Linked DNA regions of Homo sapiens: all the other regions are linked to region 2. Evidence: promoter capture Hi-C in 16 types of primary human blood cells and fetal thymus (Javierre and others, 2016). All regions are on one chromosome and are shown on one strand. The core of a region is centred on a gene start or on the middle of the fragment in contact, and the rest is flanking DNA. Distances in the headings are between cores, read along the strand shown.

The links. The method cuts DNA at HindIII sites, captures the fragments that hold promoters and counts their contacts. A CHiCAGO score of 5 or more calls a contact.
Region 1: a contact is called between the fragment with the promoter of TOPBP1 here and the fragment with the promoter of MRPL3 in region 2, in 2 of 17 cell types (activated CD4 T cells and total B cells). The highest score is 5.8, in activated CD4 T cells.
Region 3: a fragment that was not itself captured here is called in contact with the fragment with the promoter of MRPL3 in region 2 in 5 of 17 cell types (total CD8 T cells, total B cells, naive B cells and 2 more); the score reaches 6.1 in total CD8 T cells.
Region 4: a fragment that was not itself captured here is called in contact with the fragment with the promoter of MRPL3 in region 2 in 5 of 17 cell types (naive CD8 T cells, naive B cells, activated CD4 T cells and 2 more); the score reaches 8.7 in naive CD8 T cells.

What each region holds. Positions count from the first base shown.
Region 1 is chr3:133,660,056-133,663,262 of GRCh38, forward strand. TOPBP1 (DNA topoisomerase II binding protein 1) reads right to left here and starts at 1,886. Exons shown (of 28, transcript NM_007027.4): 1 at 1,714-1,886; 2 at 989-1,079. The coding sequence starts at 1,072. LOC124909487 reads left to right here and starts at 1,171. Exons shown (of 3, transcript XM_047449438.1): 1 at 1,171-1,291; 2 at 1,458-1,978; 3 at 2,844-3,207. The coding sequence starts at 1,171. The coding sequence ends at 2,993. It also overlaps a transcript of TF not described here. RefSeq lists a silencer at 1,673-1,842 and an enhancer at 2,243-2,312. The HindIII fragment of the contact is 9,162 bases long and covers 1-2,012 here.
Region 2 is chr3:131,501,721-131,504,988 of GRCh38, forward strand. It overlaps MRPL3 (mitochondrial ribosomal protein L3), which reads right to left and starts at 1,251. Exons shown (of 10, transcript NM_007208.4): 1 at 1,010-1,251. The coding sequence starts at 1,101. LOC105374114 (a long non-coding RNA gene) reads left to right here and starts at 879. Exons shown (of 3, transcript NR_189111.1): 1 at 879-984. RefSeq lists enhancers at 887-1,573, 1,080-1,149. The HindIII fragment of the contact is 1,488 bases long and covers 551-2,038 here.
Region 3 is chr3:134,480,687-134,483,743 of GRCh38, forward strand. It overlaps ANAPC13 (anaphase promoting complex subunit 13), which reads right to left. Exons shown (of 3, transcript NM_015391.4): 2 at 2,120-2,245. The coding sequence starts at 2,218. Among named protein-coding and RNA genes, the nearest start is that of ANAPC13, 3.8 kb to the right of the region's middle. The HindIII fragment of the contact is 703 bases long and covers 1,283-1,985 here.
Region 4 is chr3:133,805,287-133,808,410 of GRCh38, forward strand. It overlaps SRPRB (SRP receptor subunit beta), which reads left to right and starts at 529. Exons shown (of 7, transcript NM_001379313.1): 1 at 529-716; 2 at 1,323-1,417; 3 at 2,460-2,537. The coding sequence starts at 563. It overlaps LOC105374116 (a long non-coding RNA gene), which reads right to left and starts at 197. Exons shown (of 3, transcript XR_924513.3): 1 at 1-197. RefSeq lists enhancers at 181-290, 381-440, 581-790, 901-950, 981-1,090. The HindIII fragment of the contact is 771 bases long and covers 1,446-2,216 here.

The DNA of each region.
Region 1 (3,207 bases), core at 636-3,135, 2.2 Mb after region 2:
ACTACACAACAGTACACTAAACTTGGATAGAGACTACAGGCACTTTCCCAGGGGCTGTATAAGGTTGCTCTCTCTGCCTGCAACATTCTTCTCCAGATATCTGCAAGGCTATCTCACCTCCTTCACGTTTACTCAATATCTTTTTCTTCATAAAGCCTACCCTGATCACACCCTATTTAAGATTATAACCCCCTTCTCTTCCCACCCCAAGAAACATCCTCTGGAACCCCTTAACGTGTTTTGCTTTTTTCTCTTCCTAATTTATCATGTCTGATTAGTGTCTATGTCCTCCTGCTAGAATGTAAGCTCTGAAAGAACAGAAATCTTTGCCTGTTCTCATCACTGATAAATCCCAAGTACTAGAGAAGTGCCTATCAAATCATGAACACTTCAATAAATACTTGCTGAATGAATGAAGTTTAAAAAAATCTGCTACAAATGCTTCTCAAACTTTAATGCACACTGAAGATCTTGTTAGAAATGCAGATTCTAAGTCTGGGTTGGAGGCCAAGATTCTGCATTTCGAAGAAACTTCCAGGCCATGCTGATACTGCTGGGTTCTGTGAGAAGCAAGGATCTACATCACCCCTACTATCATCCAATTATTATACTGTACATAATAAAACATAATTTTTAACAATTAACCAAAAAATTTTCAAGTATGACCAGTACACAACTGACTCAAATTTCTACAGCACGCAAAGGACCACTCTGGCTAGGAGACAAATGAAAGCAACTTAATTTCCAAGAACTGTAGGTCAGCCATATTAAACAGCAATGTGATAATAGACTTCCAGCCCCCCGAAATACATAATGATGTACTTAGATCAATTCAAAAATATGTGATAATGATATATCTGTATTAATGTAGACTATAAAATTATTATGAAAGTGAAATATCTACTTCTAAGACATAAAGCCCAACAAATCAAAAACACTTAAAAACAAGAAAATGAATTCACGGTATTAAGATGTTTTCAACTCTTACCTCGAGAGCTTTAAAAAAACATTTGGAATTGTCTGAAGACTTTAAAAACTTCACAAAAAACGGTTCTTTGTCATTTCTGGACATTTCTGAACTGTCAAAATAAAGGAACCATTAACAAGAACAAAACCACATTAGATAAAAAGTTGCATGTTTAACCTACCTATTTTTCTGTGCAGACAAGAATGCCTAAAGACAGACATTCTGGCTCTGCCCGTGAATTCGTCAACGGCATTTCTAAGAAATCCTGGAACTTGGACAAAGCCAAGGTAAAAGATGACAACACCAATCCTTGCAAATCAGACAGCAAAATTAACCCGAATTGAATACACTGAGGAAGGCCCTGCTATGAAGGCTCTAAGCCCTTTAGGCCAATGGACATTCAATTGCACTTGTTTTAAGGATACACAGAGTGTATCTGTCCCTGCGGATACCCACGGCCTGCGAGGTACGTTCATCCCTCAGTAAACAGATTTTAAATATAAACATGGAAGCCAGTTAGCATGGTCTTGGCCCTGCATAAGGCTAGATGCTCCGGTTCCCATCTCCAGGAAAAGGCCTGGCTCTGGGATCACGGAAGCCACGTCCTCTCGGCGTCAAAGGCCCACCCGCCGGCTCCAGGGCCAGTTACCAGGACAGGAAAAGAGGGTCCTGAAGGCCACAGAAGGCATCGCGAACCCCAGTTGGGGCTGGGGAGGAGCTGTGTCCCCACTCCGCGCCTCACTTACCTCGTTGGAGCCTCGGGGTCTCCGGGCGGCGAGTCGGGGGACGCGCTGGCCGCAGGGCGGTGGCTGGGGTCGGGCGCCAGCCCGGCGCACAGCCCCCTCCCCCGACTCGGCGCCGCCCCTACCCCAAAGCAAACGCTGGAGAACCCGGAAATTGCCCAGAACGGGAACCGACTTTCGCGCCAACCGCGCGGCCGCGCTTGCCTTTTCCGGTGGAAGTGACGCCATCGGCAGCTGCAGCAGAAGAGCGGAAATGTCAAACGTGGAGGTGAGCAGTCTGTGGGCGGTGGGGCTTCAGGGAAAGCTTGGGCCGGACCCTTTGGGTTTAGGGCTTTGCTGGGCGGGCCTAGTCTCCGCTGCGAGTAGGCCCAGCGCCGTCGGTTCAAGAGGTAGGACCACAGGCCAGGAATACTCCTTTACTGTTAAAAAAGCCAGGGAAAGAAAGGATTTCCTCAATAGATATTTATTTTACACCTGTCTTATACCAGGCATGCACGGGAAAAGGTATTATCCAAAACAATTCCGTGAGGCAAATAGTGGTAGTTCCATTTTGTAGATGTAAAAACGGAGGAAGTTAAATGATGGGTTCAAGGGCACACGGCTAGTAGGTGGTAGAATTAATACTGCATCCAGGTCTTCTGACTACGGACTGGGTGGTTTCCCTCCAACACAGCAGGAATAGAATCACCGCCTAACACAGCCACAAGATGGCAAGGGAAGAAAGGATGACTTATTACACAGCTAATGCAAAGGGATCTTTGTCAAGATCTTCAATGGTCTCCCCTCCTCCTCCCCTTCAGTGGACATCGCCGTTCTCTTTCTCTGCATCTGCCTCAGTACTGGGGAGATTCTGGGACTGAACCTAAGATTCAGATGGCAGAGAGCAAAGGGAGAGGGGATAAGATGGGCCTGCAAACCTTAGTGATAACCAGCGGAAAACTGATTCGTTGTTGCTTCTTTTCATTTTATTCTTTTTTAAAAAAATTTTTTCTTATTTTATAAAATCTAGCCACTATACTAATGAGGATCATTTTATTATTCACTGCTGAGATTGAGAAAATGACTTTGGATTTACTAATGTAAAAGTATAATGCCATGTCCCTTGATTGTTTTTGTTTTTCTTTTCTTTTTAGAGCCTAAAGATAGTAATGAGCAGCTTGAGTCTTAAGTTTTTGAATACACCGATGGAAGGTGACAAAGATTCTTTGCTTGGCCAAACTTTAGTCAGACTCCTCAACCTTCTCGTAGGTTTATCTGTGCATTTCCTTGGAAAATCCAGTTAGAACCCTCTACCCTCAATATCTGATCAGGTTCCTCATCCTCTACCATCCAAGGTGATGTCTGATCACCTTGACCTATTTTCAGCAAGAAACCCCTTTACTCCTGAAGTTCCTTCTTAGTAATTTTTTATCCAGTGACCCCAAGCTTTTTGTTCCTTGGCTATAAATTCCCACTTGCCCATGGTGTATTTAGAGTTGAGCCCACTCTCTCTCTCCT
Region 2 (3,268 bases), core at 1-2,500:
AAAAGAAAAAATAAATAAAACCAAACCACAATTTAAAAACTTCCTCCACTTAATATAGAAAAGGGAAGTCACAAATTGGAAAGTGTAGTCAGGGCCTTGGGAAAGGGCTTGGATTCTGTATACCTTTTTTTCAGGTCTCCAACCTTTTCCTCACTCCCCACATTCCTTCGGATAAGGCTCACATTTAAACTGTTAGTCGTTACCCTGGAGAAAAAAATTCATCTTCTCCTCGCAGATAAACATATTCCCCAAAAAACAGTCCTACCTATAGACATGAAAAGCCACTAACCCATTTGGAAGTGTACCTTAATAGTTTTACATTCAGTGGAGGTGGCAGAAGGTGGCATGTTGATCTTTGTCTAACAAGCTCACCTCCTCCCTGCAATGACATGGCCTAGGTTCAGAGAAGTGAAGAAACTGGGTGTGCAAAGTTAAAAGATCCACAAAAGGCATGACCTCTGAACAGGTGAACATACCAAGAAAGACCTTAGTGGGCGGAGGTCAGGAAGAAGGGGTGTAATTCTTGCATGGAGGGTCAGAACAGAAGTAAAGCTTTCTGCAGTCTACTCTCCTTTTGTAGTCAGATAAATTCAGGCTAGATTCCTAATTTTCCACTTATTAGTTGAGTGACTTTGGGCAAATTAACTCACCTCCCTAACCTTCAGTTTTATCTGTAAACCTTATGATAGCAGTTTGCTCCCGTGAGGCTACATAAGGCACCTAATACACTTAGCAGAGCGCTTAGTACCTGGCAAACGCTCACTAATTGTAAGATATGATTGCTGTTAATAGCGTTCGCTGCTAGTGGCTGGCTCATAAGCGTTTTTTAAAAATCACCACTTCAATCCCCTTAGAACGTGCTTCCTTAGGTTAACGGCCCTTATTCTTCTGTGTCCCACGTCTCAACAGAGCCCCTTCCTCCTCCACCCAGGGGAGGCCCAACTGCACCAGGCCATTCCACTGCTTCAGGACGCAACTGTGCAGGTAGGACACCCTCACACCTTCCTACCTGTTCCCCGGGCCCAGGGCAGCACCCAGGCCGTCCCCGAGTCGACCCAGCACCTGGGCGCCGACCTGCGTCAGCAGCCTCCAACCCGGCATGGATTAGCCCGGGAAGACTCGACTCACGACTTCCGGGCGCCCTGCCGCTCTGCTTTCAGGGAGTCCCCACGCCACCGCCACGTGGACGCAGTAGCCGTGGGGAAGTTTTCGCAATGGCCGCCGGAACGGTCGCCGGCCGATGCTCTCTGCGACGGAAAGAAAGCCGCCGGACCCACTTCCGGTGCGTTTTACAATGAACTCCGGGCACTCGAGTCGCTCCCCGGAAACTATAGTTCTGCTTCCACCGTTGTCCTACTTTGGATGTGAGTTGGAGTAGGTAGGGGTGGGAAGGGACTGACTCGCCTCTCCAGGGGTAAAATAAAAGGGATGTTCAGAGTTTAAACTTTAGAAGAATAAGGACAGACTTCCTGAGGACGCTAAGGAAAATGAAGACACTTCTAAATAGTGCCCGTTGTGAGGCAATGCATTATGCTAAGCAGCGCTTCATAATCCTATATTTGTTAATCATAAAAAACGGTCCTGAAAGGAAGTATTTATTTTTCTATTATAAATGAGGAAACTGACTCAGAATTTAGGTGCTGGTCCAAAACAACACATCTGGCAGAGGAGCAGAGTTGGCACTGAAACAGGGTTGGCATGTGTTATCAATAGACTACACCCATAGAAATGATGTATGCCTTCTAGGGCTGGATCATAAAACATATTGTTACTTCAGTTTTTGTCTCTTGGATTGCTCCCTGTGGAGAAAGCTAGCCTTCATTTCCTGCAGACACTCAAACAGCTCTGCAGGGAGGAACATATAAAGAGGAATCAACTAGCCAGTCATGACTGAGCCACCTAGGAAGTGGATCCACCAGTCCTCGGCTGCAACTCATGGAGACGTTAAGCCTGAATCTCCCAGCCAGGCCGCTCATGAATTACTGACTAGGAGAAATTGCCAGAGAAAATAAATGATTACCGTTTTTTTGAGTCATTAAGCTTTAGGGTAATTTGTTATGCAATAATAGATAGCTAATACACCTGCACAAAAAATCCCCTGTCTTGGGTTCCAGATCTAGCCTAATAACCATGTATGTGACTAGGACATTTATTCTTCTACTAATTCCCTTATTTGTCAGATTACTGTTTGTAGAAATTTGGAAATAAGAACTTTAAAGTGTAGCTATTTCAACCTTCTCTTTTTACTAGAGATCTGGCTATCTTGGTTTAACAGGTCCAGACAATGGTCAATTCCTGGCCATTACTTGGACTTTAGTGGGCTAAAAAATCTTTGCTTTGCTTGTCCATTCATTCCACTCATTGCTGTTGCAGTTACCTTAGACACTTTTCAATAATACTTTGGACCTTGAAGGAAAAACTACATCTCTTCATTCTAGCCATGCTGCCTGGCTTCCCAGATACTTAAGGATGGCTCTTCATTGAACAAACATGTTTTGAGGTGTGCTACATGCAAGAAGTTGAGAATAAGAAGATTTCTGTACTACTGCCAATAACTAACATTTCTTATCCATATAGTGTGCTAGAGTATGTGCTCAGCATTGTGGAAGCCCATAAGCCAAGGCTACTAGAAGAAAACGTGAACTCATACAAAGTCAAGTTTAATTAGCTTGATGCAGCAAAAGACAGCATATGTCTGAGGATGTTTCCAAAAGAGTGACCTGGGAGGGGCTTGAAATGAAATTTGGACTTAAGGCTGAGTGATTTTAAAGTGGCATCAGAGAAGCAGGAACTTGTTTTAGAATGGGTGCTGTCAAGAAGAAAGGACAGTTCAGCAATTGGATATCTTGATAGTCTTTGTTCTAGAGACAGGAAGAACAGAGAGGAAGTGGGCATGATGTTCATAAGAAAGCAGGAATCACTCAGAATAAGGAACTGTTAGTCATTTTGCTGCAGTGGTGTGGCCTACAGTACGGTCTGTAAGAAATATTGTAATGATGGGCTGGGCGTGGTGGCTCAGCACTTTGGGATGCCAAGGCGGGTGGATCACGAGGTCAGGAGATTGAGACCATCCTGGCTGACATGGTGAAACCCCTTCTCTACTAAAAATACAAAAAAAAATTAGCCGGGCGTAGTGGCGGGTGCCTGTAGTCCCAGCTACTCAGGAGGCTGAGGCAGGAGAATGGTGTGAACCTGGGAGGCGCAGCTTGCAGTGAGCGAGATTGAGCCACTGCACTCCAGCCTGGGTGACAGAGCAAGACTCCGTCTC
Region 3 (3,057 bases), core at 384-2,883, 3.0 Mb after region 2:
CAGACAGCTTGTTAACTGCCAGACATGTGAGACAGTCCTAGATTACCCAGCCTCCAGAGTCTGTTGGCTGACTGCACAACACAGGCAAGCCTGGCAGGGATCAGCTGAGCTGGTGCAGACTAGAAGTCCCTCCCAGCTGAGCTACAAAATCATGAAATAAACAGTTGCTCTTTTAAGTCACTAAGCTTTGGGGTGACTTGTTATGCAGCAAAACCTAACTGGCATACACATTGCCTTAGAATCGCAAGACAAGCGAAAGGTGTGGATTAGCAGCAGGGCCAAGCCAACTTCGCCTGGAAGTCAGCAGGGAAACCTCCTTCCACCCCTGCCACCCAAATGTTCTCCAATCTGAGCCATAAACTTCTCCAGAAATGGACGTCTCCTTTATTTTCTTGACTTTGTTTAGGCCCTCCTCCCTTGCCTAGACCACAACAGCTTGCCAATTGGTCTCACTTGCCCCTATCTCCATGTCACACCATCTCTAACAATGCTGGCTAAACTGATTTTCCAAAAGCCAAATCTGAGCATAGCAGTCTTGCTTTTAAGACCATTCATTCCTGGATCTCCTGAGGATGAGGTCTAAGTGTGATATCAAATACCACTCTCAATCTGATCCAAGCCCAACTTTTCAGCCTACTTATGTGACAAATGTATTCTTCATCCACAGTGAATGACTCACCATGTCCCAAAGCCTTTCAAAACTCTGGGCCTTTACACATCTGTCCCCTCTGCTGCAATACCCTTGTCTACCTCCACTAAACTTCTGGTCCTTCCTTATGACCCAGCTTAAACATGACATTCTCTCAGAAGCCTTTCTGATGCCCACCAGGCAATCAGCCACTTCGTATATGATGTGGCTGTTTATGCCCCCACCTAGAATATTTATTATCACAATTACTTATCTATAAGTGTTGCCTTTCTAGACCCCTCAGGAGGAGGAACTGTATCTTATGTTCACATAGTCTTATGGCACACAGTAGGCTTCAAAAAATGCTTGTCAAATGAATGAATGAACAGAAGTTCACAAGACAGGATTTGGAACTTCACAGACCTAGGTATATGTTATATGAAGCCCTACTTACCTGCTACCAGACTTTGGGCAAGTTGCCCTTTCTGATCCTATTCTTTTCCTATAAAATGGGAATAACAGCACCTCCCTCACAGGGTTGTTTAAGAATTAGAGATAATGTATATTTCCAACCTCAGTCCATGGCATAAAACTGGTATTCAATAAATGACATCTATAATTCTTATTATGCTCTCTCTTTTGACTATTTTCCTAAGCTTGAACTAAGCTATGACTTATTTGATATGTATATTATTCATTGAACATATTACTATCTCTTATTCGTAAATGAAAATACAGATGAACTATTTTATTTCTTTGCAAACAGCAACAGCAGATATTCTAACTATAAATTATATTTTATTCAATACTAACTACTCTTCTCAGGGCAGCTGGCATGCTTTAAAGAAAAACAGTCCTGTTTTCCCTTTTTTAGGCCTCTATGACATAAATAGGATTTTAAACAAACATTTATATAAGCAAAACTTTTGGATCACTTATTACATGAGGTTTAACAAACTCCCTGCAGCAGAGTTTTCCAAAGATGGGGAAGAAAAGAGTATTCCAGAAGGCCACTGGCCTAAACGCAAAAGAATACCCAGGTATCTTCTGAATATTTTCCAGGGAACCTAAGATAGGTGTATGCTCCAAGAATGTAAGTTTCTAAAAATGCTGAAAGACTGATGAGCCACAGGCAGGGAAGTAAGAAACAGAGCTCATATGCTGCTGCTTCTTGTTCTTCCCCATCTTGCGCATTAAACTCTCATTATTTGGTTTCTCTGGTTTTCGTGTGGTGGACAGAACATGGCTCAGAAAATCGGGGCTCTAGTCCTGGCATGACTCCTAACTGACCTGGCCATGTTAGCTCCCTGAACCACATTTTTCTTCAAATAAAACATACAACTGGATGCTCTCCAGAAGCTTCTAGAGTTAGAGAATTCCACAGCTTTGATTTCTTTGCCACACTAGTTTATCTTCCATTGATATCCCTCCTCCACTAGTTACTGCCAGATCAATACCTTTAACCCATCCTCAGCTCAAATCATAACCTACCAGTGGTATTGCGACATCCTCATAAGGCAGCTTGTCTTCTCGCCAAGCATCATCAATCAAATCCAAGATCCTTCCATCTCTCTGAACCTCACTGTCCATTTTCCTGCAGCTTTGATCTTGTCAAATCTGTAAGCCAAAGAGGTTATTTCTTAAACACGAAGACTGAAGAGATGGTATAATCCACTATTAGGATTCTCCAGGCTTTTTAGTCTGGGGCCACCTTTTGGGAAAAGGTTCATTTTCTCATATGGGCCGGGTGACTACTTTGATCACAGTTCCTCTCTCCAACCCCAACTGATACATATTTTATAGTGTATACTGGACAGGCATAGCCCAGCTGACAGACCAGTGTCATAGAGTGTGACAGGAGAGCAACACGTTAAACGAGGCCCTCAAATATTAATATGTTGCATCTCAATGTAGCTCTTCTCTTCTAACTTGAACATTCACCTTTTCCTGTTTGTGATGCCTTTGATGAGTCCCTGATTCATAATGGCCAGCTAAGTTTCCTTTCTAGCCCCTGGCTCAAACCTCAGCATTCTTAGGCACAGGAGTCACACGAACATACTGTAAAGGAAACGGCTTCCTTCCCTAAAATAGTACCCAGGCTGAGATCTGAATAAAGCACTTCTAGGTGAACACCAGTGGTAGAACCTCATACTGCTAAAGTTTCTCCAGTTTCTGCTTCCCTTTGGGGTAGCTCCTTCCTCGGAGGTTCCTTCCTCTAATTCTTAACGCTACACTCCCTTCAATTTCTGGCCCAAATGGTCACGATGCTTATTTAGCTCCTTGACCATGGCTGATTCCCCATTTTTCTCTGAAACTGCTATAATCTAATCCAAAAGGCTGGCTAGCTTGTAGGATACTTCTGGATTTCCCTGTTTCCAAGGTTGGGCCCTGACTCATCATAGGCATCATCCTATGGGTGCTCCCTGCTA
Region 4 (3,124 bases), core at 581-3,080, 2.3 Mb after region 2:
GCACAGCACCTTTTTTTCCTTTAACCACTCGCAGATGCTAACTCATTCTTCAGGACTCAATTCCAATGTCCAGAAGCTTTTCTCTGAACTCATGATGGACTCCGCGTCCCATTATGTATTCCCACATCGCTCCGTACATCCATCTGTCACATCCCTTGTCACATTAAATTCAGATTAAATGTTTGTAGGATGCTTGAGTTCTTCACAAGTCTCACGTCACTTAGCGACGGTCGGGAACTCCTCAGTGGTAGTTTCGGGAGCCATTCATTCATTTTATTCATTTCATCATTCTTTCAACAGTCATAACGTAGGTGACGACGACTGACTCATCTCTTAAAAGATGTGTGTGTCCCTCGACAAATAACCTGTCTGCCCCTATCGTTCTGTAGGAGGACGGAGTCCCAGAGAACTACAACTCCCATCAAGCACTTGGGGGATCGCCGCGGCTGAGGGAGAGACTATGGCTTAGGAACCACCATTCGCGTGAGGCTCTGCTCCCCGCGCCTGCGCAGAGTGCAGGGCCACGTCGCTTTTGCTGTACCGGGGACCACGCGTCTCATCCATGGCTTCCGCGGACTCGCGCCGGGTGGCAGATGGCGGCGGTGCCGGGGGCACCTTCCAGCCCTACCTAGACACCTTGCGGCAGGAGCTGCAGCAGACGGACCCAACGCTGTTGTCAGTAGTGGTGGCGGTTCTTGCGGTGCTGCTGACGCTAGGTAAAAGGCGGCCGGTGGTCATGGCGGGTTTGGGGCGGGCAGAGGTCCGGGCTTTGGCTGCACCGCTGCAGGCCGGGGACGCGGGGCTGAGAGGGCGCCTTGAGGGCATCAGGAGGGTGAGACCCACCCAGTCTACACCCCACCCTCTCTCCTGAAGCAGCGGCAGCAGCTGGGCGTTAAGGGGGATGCCGGGCAACCCCCGGAGTTAACGTCCTGGTCCTTGGGGCGCAGATTGCTCTTCGTCATCTGCCCTGTTACGCTTGAGCGCGCTGTTCCTCGCCTTCCGCTGTTCTCACTGCAAAGACTCAGGGTCTTGACACCAACTTTCAGCCTCCCGTGTTTGCGTGCGGGCGCTGGGATACCAAGGTAGTGAGATAGCACCTGAGTCCCAGTCAGAGTAAGGACTGCAAAGAAAAGTTGACAGTTGACAGTGCCTGGCTCTCAGTGGATCCCTAACAACAGCAATAGTAACCATTATGATAAAAGTCAGTTCCAGGTGAATGAGGTGTTTCGTCACAGACTTCTGTGAATTTCCCCACCCCAGCCATGCACATATACTGATTCCCAAGGCGTAATTTTTGTTGTTTTTCTCTGTCTATTCCACAGTCTTCTGGAAGTTAATCCGGAGCAGAAGGAGCAGTCAGAGAGCTGTTCTTCTTGTTGGCCTTTGTGATTCCGGGAAAACGTTGCTCTTTGTCAGGGTAAATGATTTCATTGACACCCCTGTTAAGCTTAATAGAAAATTTTATAGATCCCAGTATTCCTGTCATCTCACGGTTTATTTTGTAAAAGAAGCTGATGCTGTTAAATTTGGAAGTTAATTCTTGACTTACTTGGGAGAACAAAAAGACTCGTAGAAACCCATAATTGAGAAATATTGGTCATTTCTCCTTTTTTTTTTCTGTTTGCCCTTGCCAGATGCTGATATTTAGTCTTTATCACATTCAAGGATTTTATTTAATTAGTTTCATTCCAGAATAGCAGAAGGCATAGAAGCTAGTGTCCTACAGTTTATAATTCCTTCGTTAACAAATTCTTAGGACAGTTTATCGAAGACACTTTTTCACAGGGTGATCCTTCTTTGACATAGTGGGCTAGTTAGGCTTCTTTTTACTAATATTTATTTTTAATACATTTAGTATTTTTAACAGTGTATTTTAATGTGGTGAATAGGAGAGGTTTTCTGCTTTTTAACTCTTCTTTTTGAGAGTATAAATTATTTCCCTTCCATTAAAGAAATACCTCCATTTTTTTTTTTTTTTTTTTTTTGAGGGAGTGTCTCACTCCAATGCCCAGGCTGGAGTGCAGTGGCGAGATCTCTGCTCATTGCAGCCTTGACCTCTGGGACTCAGATGATTCTCCCACCTCAGCCTCCGAGTAGCTGGGACTACAGGCGTGCAACACTACGCCCGGCTGATTTTTTATATTTTTTGTAGAGATGAGATTTTGCCATGTTGCCCAGGCTTCAAATCATTTTTGTTGGTTAAAAATCTTTACAGAAGCTTGGCAAATTTGGCCACTAACTGTCTTTTGAGAATAATGTTGTTTTTATTCCACTGAGGAGTAAAATATGCAATTAATTAGATTTTTTTCTACAGGTAAAAAAAATCAATATCGTCTTTTTCACCTGTCGGAAGCAGCATTCATTTACTTAACCTTACACCTGGGAGACTTAGAATAATATAACTCAATTTAGGTGTGCTATTAAAATGTTGAATATCACCCATCTTGTTTTTTTTACAGTTGTTAACAGGCCTTTATAGAGACACTCAGACGTCCATTACTGACAGCTGTGCTGTATACAGAGTCAACAATAACAGGGTAAGATGTTTGTGGAGTTTTGGAGTCTGACAGTCTTACTTTACTGTGGTGTGTCAGTTAAGGACATTTTTAGGATGAGTTCATCTGAGGATGTAAGTACCATTTGTAGCTTATTTTTATGGAGAAACATATTCTTTGTGACAAATTCTCTTGACAATCTGTACAGTAGATTTAATCATGCCCTCCTCTGCATTGTTGTACCTTAATGTACAGTAATGTTATATCACATTTTATTCTTATTTTTTGTTTCTGTGTCTTCTTTCCAACTTTACAATGAGTTCTTAAGAGTGGGCATTAAACCTTTTAAGTTTTGAATAGGTAATACATGCACATGGGACAAAAATTCAAAAGGTTAGAAAAGATATTTGGTGAAAAGTAATTTTTCCTTTCCTTTCCCCACTACCTAGTTTTCTCCTCAGAAGCAGTGACTTACTTTTTTTTGTATGTAGTCTTCCGGATGTTCTGTGCATATACAAACATGTCTGTATATCCTTTATTGTTGTTTTTTTTTAAATGCTGTTCTGCCCATTATTTTTCTCATACGGCTGATACAACTTGGGCTTTTCTTATTGTCCTACATTTGTATA